2 separate regions of the Homo sapiens genome follow, and region 2 is linked to region 1. Evidence: promoter capture Hi-C in 16 types of primary human blood cells and fetal thymus (Javierre and others, 2016). All regions are on one chromosome and are shown on one strand. The core of a region is centred on a gene start or on the middle of the fragment in contact, and the rest is flanking DNA. Distances in the headings are between cores, read along the strand shown.

Region 1 (4,910 bases), core at 1,865-4,364:
AGTAATTGTGCCTCGATATCCTCTGCTATTTCATCATTTCCTCTAATTATGGTGCTAGCCCAAAGAGGCACACGTGCCACCTTTTGAACTGCAGCATCTCCTAAAAGTTCATGACAAATGTCCTTAGCAGCAGGCAGGTTCAATTCTCCAGTAGTAAAGAGCTTCTTAGCTTAGCAATGCTGTTAGCCACTAAGAATGACACTGTCAATGCAGACACATTTGATGGAAGTGGCGGCCTTCAATAATTGCTTCTGTTCTTCGTGTCCACATTTTTTCTTTTGAAAAACTCCAAAGGCTTCTCTTTTTATGTAGGGTGCTTGGTCTCCATGTGGCGAAGCAGTTTTGAAGGTTTCATGGGTTTGTTGGATAGCCGCTTGCCACATATTATATAAAGCAGGCTTGGAGAATGTGAATCACCTGTTGCAGTGAACCTGCAATTTAAGTAGGACTCTAGGTATTTTCTTTCACATGCAGCTTTCCTTTTATTAGCAGTCTTAGAGTTTTCCATTTTCTCATCATTGGGTCTTTCCCCATTTTCAAAGAAGCTCTCCAGTGACATTTGTTTTTTACTCGTTTTGGCTAGAGTTAGGTTGTGGGCTTACCAAAACTGTGACTGAGGCAAGTGCTCAGTGTGGGAAGGAAGCGCGGACGGAAGTGGTAAATAAAATAATGGGCGGGCCACGCAAGACTTTAAAGCCTGCCATCAGATGCAACTGTACAACTGAAATACATCAACTCACTTGCCACTATAAAGCTTGCCACCAGTGCAGCTTTTGTCACTTGACACTCACTGACAGGGTTTTGATATGAATCTGCAAGCAATTGATTTATTATGGTCTCTGTGCAGTCAAACCTCTTTGCTAATGTTAATCTGTATTTGCAGCTGTTCCCCAGCCCTAGCGGCCACACCTTAGCTCCACCTCAGGTCATCAGGCATTAGATTCTCATAAGGAGTGCGTAACCCAGATCCCTTGAATGGATAGTTCACAAGGGGGTTCACACTCCCATGAGAATCTAATGCCACTGCTAATCTGACAGGAGGCAGAGCTCAGGTGGTAATACAAGTGATAAGGAGAGGGTGTAAATACAGATGAAACTTCACTCGCTCGCCCACTGCTTACCTCCTACTGTGTGGCCTGGTTCCTAACAGGCCATGGACTGATACTGGTCTCTGGCCCAGAGGTTGGGGACTCCTGTGTTAGAACATGTAGATGCCAAGTACCTGTGCCAACCACAGGTCCACCTTTGCATACTTGACCTTACCAGTATTTTATGAATATATATGTACAGCTCCCATGTTACCAGTGAAGGGTCTTGACTATGAGTCATACAGGTTCTTGGCGTTTGAACAAAGAATTGGACAAAACACATAAGCAAAGCAATGAAAGAATGGAGCAATGAAGGCACAGATGTGTTGAAACAAAAGTACACTCCACAGCTCAAGAGCACCTGTTACAGAATTTTCTGGGATTTAAATACCCTCTAGAGCGTTCCCATTGGTTACACCCTATGTAAATGAAGGAGTGGCCCATAACCAGCCTGCTTGGTTGCAGGAGGTGACCAATCAGAGGCTGAAGTGAAGTTACAAAGTTACACATGAGGACTTGGCCTGCTACCAGTCTGATTATTTGCCAGAGGGGACCAGTCAGAGGTACTTTCCATTTTTTCATCTGCAATGCAGTGCATTGGGAGTAGCCTCCGATCCTTTTGTTACTTGGGCATGGAGAGGTGGGGTTTTCCTTTTGGTTCAGCTCTAGGAAGTCAGCAGGGCCTTCGGTTCCCTGTCTCTAGACCCTGTTCTCCTGCCTCACCCATAAAGGGAATTCCCTAGAGATACTAAAGGCTGTCTGTCTCTCTTCTGAGCAGCCCACTCTGCCTCTCAGAGTGTACTTTTGGTTTACAATAAACTTTTTTGCCTACTCTTACTTTGTACTTGCTTTCAAATTCTTTTGTGTGGTGAAGTCAAGCACCTGAACCGGCCCACTGACAACAGCAAGGATAGAAGCAGTGAGATCGGTTACAAGGCTATTACAATAGTTCCCTCCAGAAACGGCAGTACTGAGAGGTGGGGAGAAGTAAGTTCTGGATTTTCTTTTTTTTTTTTTTTTTTTGAGACTCGCTCTGTCACCCAGGGTGGAGTGCAGTGGCGTGATCTCGGCTCACTGCAAGCTCCGCCTCCTGGGTTCACACCATTCTCCTGCCTCAGCCTCCCGAGTAGCTGGGACTACAGGCGCCCGCCACCGCGCCCGGCTAATTTTTTTTTGTATTTTTAGTAGAGACGGGGTTTCACTGTGTTAGCCAGGATGGTCTCCATCTCATGACCTCGTGATCTGCCCGCCTCGGCCTTCCAAAGTGCTGGGACTACAGGTGTGAGCCACCGCGTCCGGCCCTGGATGTCTTTTTGAAAGTAGAGCTTACAGGATATGCTGACTGATTAGACCGGAGATGTCACAGCATGGTGTCAAAGCGACTAATATTTTTGGCTAGAATCACTAAAGTTTACATTTATGAGATGGATAAGACTGTGGAAGGTTTGGGGAAGAAGATCCGAAGCTCAGTTTTGGACCTGTTAGGTTCAACATGCCTCTTAACACATCCAAGCAGAATGGTCAAGGATGCAGTCTTCCACATGGACAGGACATGAAATGTCTGACATCGAACAATAACAAATAACATTTTGACATGAGGAAAAGTATTTGTAATTGTAATTGATAGTTCATTCACTATAATTTGTCCACGTTCTTTTTCAGGCCATGTCATATATATACCTATTAATATTTGTAATAGACAATTTTGCTCTTTTCTACTTAAATTGTTATATACATTTCTCCACATTGCTTTATAGGCCTAACAACCATGTTTAAATTCTGTATCTTCATACAGAGGTAATATTTAAAAAAGAAGACGAAGACAAAAGGACTCCCTTCCCTCACCCATATACCTATGCCGTCTTACTGGGAGCAAACACTTCTTTAGCTCCGCAAAGCGATTGCACTTTCTCTTCCAAGTCGGCAGACGGCGCGCGAGCAGCGTAGGCACTGCTCCGCCTCCAATCCAGTTGCTCTTCTTTCTTTTCCTCACTCTCTTTTTCCTCGCGTCCTTTGCCCCGGAAGTGCTCTTACAACATTGGCTGCCGGCGTGACTTTGACCGCTTCCCGGTGCGTTACCGGCAGCTGAACCCACCCGGCGCCACGGGACTTTGACGCGTGCTCTGCGCTTGCCATGAGACTCCTGGGAGCTGCAGCCGTCGCGGCTCTGGGGCGCGGAAGGGCCCCCGCCTCCCTAGGCTGGCAGAGGAAGCAGGTACCGGAGCATAGAGAGGCTAAATCGGGACCATTCCCGGAACCTTGTGATCCCTTCTGGGCAATGGAAGGCCGTGACACCCCCTGGGTCCTCATGACTGACAGCTCCGAATACTGGCAGTCGCTCGTCAGTGCTGAAAAGCACCTCGGTGCCTGCACATTAGCTCGTTAGCTCGTTTGTTTCGCTCTCTGGTATCCCTAGGGTTTAATCAACTAAAAGTGTCTGTCACTCAGATACTTTGATATTTTATCCACCTTTTCTAAGGTTTTTTTTTTTTTTTTTTGCCTCTCTTTTCCCGTGAATAATTGTGCATTTTGGATGTGCAGTCCTATAGGGAAAGGTTTATATTGTATCTTCATTCCATCTAATAGGGATCCCCATCCCCTGCCACCAGAGTAAAGTTAAAACAAGCTTCATGAATTGTTTTTGTTTGGAGGGAATTGGAAATCTTTGGGGGCTGTCTTGGAGCTACTAGCATCACTGCATAGAGCATATAAGTTCTCAAACATATTTGTCATCTGTGAACTACAATAAAGGAGAAAGGGAAAAAAATTAAGTTAAATTTAAGCTAAAATTTGTATTTTCTATTAAAGTATTTTTTGGAGCTGTCTTTGTGATTTTATCTGCCCCAGTGTGTATTTTCAAATCTGCAGTAAAAAGTGTCTCCCATTTTAATTAAATTTAACTTATTCATTAATTAATTTTAAAAGAATACGTCTTTACTGTCTTGTTTTGAAGTCTGTCCTCTGATTACAAGAGTTCCAGGCTTAAAGGTTTCCCCTGGTGCCTTTCTCAAGCTATCTCATATCCAGTGAGATTTCTTGGAGGAATAATGTCCACCATACTCCTTTTAATTGTCTGTTGTTCTCTCTTATAAAAGGTGCATAGAATTGAGCTCTCGTATTTTTTTCAGGTTAATTGGAAGGCCTGCCGATGGTCTTCATCAGGGGTGATTCCTAATGAAAAAATACGAAATATTGGAATCTCAGCTCACATTGATTCTGGGAAAACTACATTAACAGAACGAGTCCTTTACTACACTGGCAGAATTGCAAAGATGCATGAGGTATATATTCACGGTTGATTCCGGATTAATTAGAACCAGATTTTAATTGTTTTGTTGCTATTATTTAATAAAGCTTATAAACCTGAAAGATTAAAACAATGGTAACAGCGGACTTTTGACAGTTAGGCTTATCTGAAAGTTGCTTAAGTTAAGTATCTGTGTTCTGGTTTTATTTTTATTTTTTATAGAAGAGGTCTCACTTTGTTGCTCAGGCTGGTCTCAAACTCTTGGGCTCAAATTATCATCCTGCCTCAGTCTCCCACAGTGCTGGGATTATAGGCATGAGCCACTGCACCTGGCAACTGTTTCCATTTCAGTTAAGATTTCTTTCCTTCTTGGAATGCAGGGACAGAGAAAGTCTGAATTGCTGTGCTTGTGTTTAGGTGAAAGGTAAAGATGGAGTTGGTGCTGTCATGGATTCCATGGAACTAGAGAGACAAAGAGGAATCACTATTCAGTCAGCAGCCACTTACACCATGTGGAAAGATGTCAATATTAACATTATAGATACTCCTGGTGAGTTGGATTCTTGGTTTTATTG
Region 2 (4,910 bases), core at 1,700-4,199, about 19 Mb before region 1:
GTGAGGGTTTTCATATAAGCCAGCATGTCTCACAATTTTCCTCCAGTAATGAGGAAATTGGACACTTACAAATTGTGAACATTTTACTTTAAAATATTTTAAATTATTGATTATTGAGTAAAAGTGATGCTCCATAAGTTGGGCCAATGAACTCTGAGCAACCCCAGTAAACCTCTACATACTCCCAAAGCACAAATCTCAGTTTAAAAAAGAACAGGCAGCCAGGCGTGGTGACTCATGCCTGTAATCTCAGTACTTTGGGAAGCTGAGGCGGGAGGATCACCTGAAGTCAGGAGTTTGAGACCAGCCTGGCCAACATGGTGAAACCCCGTCTCTACTAAAAATACAAAAAAAAAAAAAAAAATTAGTTGGACGTGGTGGCACGCGCCTGCAGTCCCAGCTACTCGGCAGGCTGAGGCTGCAGAATCACTTGAATCTGGGAGGTGGAGGTTGCAGTGAGCCACGATTGCACCACTGCACTCCAGCCTGGGCGACAGAGTGAGATTCTGTCAAGAAAGAAAGAAAGAAAGAAAGAAGGAAAGAAGGAAGTAAGGAAGGAAAGAAAAGAAAAAGAAAAGAAAGAAAAGAAAGAAAGAACGAACAGGCAAGGGTTCTTGTGATAATATTTCTCCCAACAGTTAAGTGACTATTTTGAATAAGACAATGTACTAGGTACTTTGGGACAAAGATGATTAGGATGCTCACACTGTATCCTCAACTTTAAATATATCCCTCCACCTTCCAAAAGCTGGATGCATTTAGGACTCAGCTTAAATGCCACTGCCACCAGTAAGACCTTTCTAGTTACCCTAGCCTGAAGCATTCTTTCCTAGGGAATCCTATAGGATTTCATTTTAACTGTTCATGGTACACTTGTGTACACATCTTTTCTTGCTTTCTAGAGTAGATCCTCCTTAAAGCCAGGGTCATTGCTTATACATGTCTTTATCTCCAGATCACCTTATATATTTGAGTATGGGGGTTTAAGAACAGATACCATAACACAAGACTAGAAAGCCATGATGGATTTAAATTTCAGTTCCACCACTCATTTCAGATGTGCAATAGTGGGCAAATTTACTTAACCTCTTTCAAGTTTGACTTATGTAAAACAGGAATATTATTATTATCTACCTCTTAGTGCTGTAAGAATTAAATTCAGAGTTAGCCAGTTAGAGCAGTGCCTGACCTACAGTAACCACTTCACAAACATATAACTCTATCTCCCAGCTGCTGTGAGAATTAGGCAGCCATGTTTAGCAAAGTGCATGGCAGACACTAAATATTCTATGGTAAATGTACAAATGAATGAATTCACGTTTTGTATTTTCCACAAAGGATTTAAAATATATAAAGAATGAAGGCAATATTTCATTATAGAAATACACTGGTAAATGTAAAGACGGCAAAAGAAAATGAAATTAGGCAGATCCAAGAGCCTTTTCCAAAAACGTCCATTACTGCAACCACAGCAGACCCAAACTACATCAGGTAGTTAGTAATACGAAGTGCTCTAATTAAGAGGCTTGAGGTCTTGTTCAGGGACTGTAACCTGGGTGCCCAAGAAAGTCCACGGATAGTGCTAGCTTCGGCAGCACATAGAGAGGAGATTAGCGTGGCCCCTGCGCAAGTATGACACGCAAATCCGTGAAGCGTTCCATATTTTTTATAAAACAAATTAAAAAAAAAAAGAAGGTCCATGGATTGTGGGGGGGGGTGTCTGTGAATGAATGCACTGAATTTTATGCAAAAATGTTTGTTTCTCTGTGCATTTTCCCTGGGAGTATTCCTAACTTTTTCCTAGTTCCAACTTTGCCACAATTAACCTTGTAGAAACATAATTTAAAAAAATTTTTTAACTTAAGATGAGGGACTTAATCCCTAGCGTCTTCAAGCTCCAAAATGTTTGATTCTGTGCTTCATAACAAGTTTTTTTTTTTTTTTTTTTGAGACGGAGTCTTGCTCTGTCCCAGGCTGGAGTGCAGTGGTGCGACCTCGGCTCACTGCAGCCTCTGCCTCCCGGGTTCAAGCGATTCTCCTGCCTCAGCCTCCTGAGTAGCTGGGACTACAGGGGCCCGCCACCACGCCCGGCTAATTTCTTTTTTTTTTTTTTGCATTTTCAATAGAGACGGAAGATATTCTTATACTATCGTTTTCTTTCCTTATTATTATAACACTCTTGTGCAAACTAGTCTAGGGCGTTTTTTAGGGTTACGGTGATAATAACAAAGTGCTCTAACAATTACTATTCTTACCAGCCACTGGATTTGCAAATGCATAAAAGCACACCAGCCAGTGTTATAAACAGCACCCCCTTCCTCCCAACCCTTCTTCTCCCCTTAGAAACCTAACAGCTGAGATATCAAAGCATTTGAAATTCCATTTTTGACTCCATATACATTTGTTTTTGGCTTCTTTGCTTGTTTATAGTTTGTAGCCAGCACACACTATCCCCAGAATAAGCCCAACAGGAGTGTAGATTAACTACCACCGTTTTAAAGGCAAACTTTAGTTTTACCAAAGCCTCCTACGGAGTTCAACACATTCGGCTTCTGTGTTTCCCTACACCACCGATCCCGCTGCAGACTGCAGGAGCTCTGGCAAGCGCCACAAGCGCCAGGGGAGACAAAACCCCTCACTAGCAGGCTTTGCCTCCCCAAATCACCCCGGTCCCCTAGGCCCCACCGCCTTCTCCCTTCCTGGAATCAAACGACCAAGACCCCGCAAGGCCTGAGGCGGCGGCCGCAGCGGGAGCCCAGACCACTGCTTACCGCGGCCCTCAGTCCAGAAGCTCCAGGAATCGGCCGTAACCTATGGGACCCCGCTCCCTTCTACGGGATCTGGACCTACCATGGCTGCGTCGGTCCAATCCCGGGAACCCTCGTTTGTTACCGGCTACTCAGGCCTTGAGATAAACCCACCGATCCACTGACCGTCAGACTGACTGACGTGGAACTTCCGGGAGCCGATTCTCGCGATAGTCAGAGGCCAGGGCCGGAGCGCCTGCGCAAACTGCGCGCAGGGCCGTCGTTTCCCAAGCCCCGCCCCAGTTTCCTAGGCAACGTGGCCTTCCAGACCGCTGGTAGTGGACTTGAGGCTGTCGGGAAGGAGGGGTGTGGCCTAGACCACTAAGGGCCGTGACGTGGTGCCGCTGAGCTTGGACCCCGACCAGAAGATAGAGATTGAAACGATGAGGAAAACGAAGTGCCTAATCCCCGCTGGACGCTAACTGCAGGGCAAGCTCCCCAGTGTTGTAGTTGTGTTTCGGAGGCCGAGAACCGCTATCGGGCTTCCTCGGACTCTGGCCCTGGAGGGGGGAAACGGCGAGGGAGAAGGCGAAACGAGTCTCCAGTGTGTTCTTGGGGCCTGGTGCGAGGCCCAGAGAATTCTCTGCAGGCCTTTGCCCGGGCACTGATTAAGGCTGCGAAGAGACGCACCGGGCTGCGGGCTTAGTAGCTTCAGGCTTCTGAAGTCAGAGGGAGGGCTGAGAGCTTACACTTCTGGAGCTCCCCGGGAGACGGCAACTACCCAACCGTGTGGGTGTGTTTGTGTATGTGTCTTTTGTTGAGCTTCGGCTGGCTGTGTTATTCATTCAACAAATATTTATCGATCTTCGGCAGTGTGTCAGACATACCTTCTTCTCAAATCTTCACATCAAACCTGAATTATCTCCATTTAATGATGAGGAAACTCGGGCTCAAAGAAGTTAAGTGTTCTAGCCAAGACTGCATAGTAAGTGGCAGATAAAACCTCAAAGTTGGGCCGGGCGCGGTGGCTCACGCCTGTAATCCCAGCACTTTGGGAGGCCGAAACGGGTGGATCACCTGAGGTCAGGAGTTCGAGACCAGCCTGGCCAACATGGTGAAACCCCGTCTCTATTAAAAATACAAAATTAGCCTGGCGTGGTGGCGGGCGCCTGTAATCCAAGCTGTTCCAGAGGCTGACAGGAGAATCGCTTAGAACCCAGGAGGTGGAGGTTGCAGTGAGCTGAGATCGCGCCACTGCACTCCAGCCTGGGCAACAGAGCAAGACTCTGTCTCAAAACAAAACACCTCAAAGTTTGTGCTCTTTCTACTACATAAAAATATCTCTTCATTAATGTGGCTGAATTCTAAGGGCCTGTGCCATAGGGGTTACACTACACAATAAAGTTCGAGAACATTTGCCTGTCACACGCACTGCACATCTCCTGTATTTCCTTTTTTTTTTTTTTTTTAAGAAAACATGTGGACCATAGAAAACTTGCCCTCTGGTTACACGTACAAACGTGTATTTTTAACTTGAGAGAAATCTTAAAGTCTTTTCAGACCTCCAGATTTTCAGAAAGGCAAAAAGAAAAATTATGTATTTGTGTGTGTAGATAATGATAATCAGAGGGAGATGATTTTGCACGAAATTATTTGGCTTTAGTAGGAGCCTTGAGCTAATGTGACTCTCTTCATGGGCCTCAGTTTTCATCATCTTAAAAAAAATCCAGCTACATGGTTTCTAAAGATCCTTCCATTTTTTTTTTTTTTATGTTTCTGTGGCATTCAATAGTGGAAAAAAGAGTCTGGAACTGGAGTTTAGTGCCAGCAGTGTGATCTTATGTAAATTGAGACTAATAATTCTAGTAATTGCATACTTTGCTTACTCTATGGAGTGACTGAGGATCCTGAGTTGAAAAAATTATATGAACTATACCTAATTTGCTTGAATAGTGGAACTTTCAATATTTCTAACTCCTGAATACTCTTGCACTTGAGAGAGTATTTTTGGATTTGGCACAGTACTAAGTGATACAAAATAAAATGATGTATCTCTATTGTCAAGGGGCTCAGCTGGGAATGCTTAAATCTTTGTATACCACTGGGCCACCTAAGGGTCTACCTAGCTGGTGTTGCGGGCCTGAACCCTCAAGTGTCATTCTT

What was found. Contacts are between HindIII fragments. The CHiCAGO score rates a contact against its expected background, and 5 or more counts as called.
Region 2: a contact is called between the fragment with the promoter of COPB2 here and the fragment with the promoter of GFM1 in region 1, in 1 of 17 cell types (non-activated CD4 T cells). The highest score is 5.3, in non-activated CD4 T cells.

What each region holds. Positions count from the first base shown.
Region 1 is chr3:158,641,413-158,646,322 of GRCh38, forward strand. It overlaps GFM1 (G elongation factor mitochondrial 1), which reads left to right and starts at 3,115. Exons shown (of 18, transcript NM_024996.7): 1 at 3,115-3,303; 2 at 4,217-4,369; 3 at 4,753-4,885. The coding sequence starts at 3,223. The HindIII fragment of the contact is 2,960 bases long and covers 753-3,712 here.
Region 2 is chr3:139,386,698-139,391,607 of GRCh38, forward strand. COPB2 (coat protein complex I subunit beta 2) reads right to left here and starts at 2,950. Exons shown (of 22, transcript NM_004766.3): 1 at 2,851-2,950. The coding sequence starts at 2,853. COPB2-DT (COPB2 divergent transcript) reads left to right here and starts at 3,106. Exons shown (of 5, transcript NR_121609.1): 1 at 3,106-3,236. It also overlaps the pseudogene LOC124906339. RefSeq lists enhancers at 2,628-2,877, 2,674-3,235, 3,168-3,467, 3,236-3,798, 3,678-3,787. The HindIII fragment of the contact is 7,530 bases long and covers 1-4,910 here.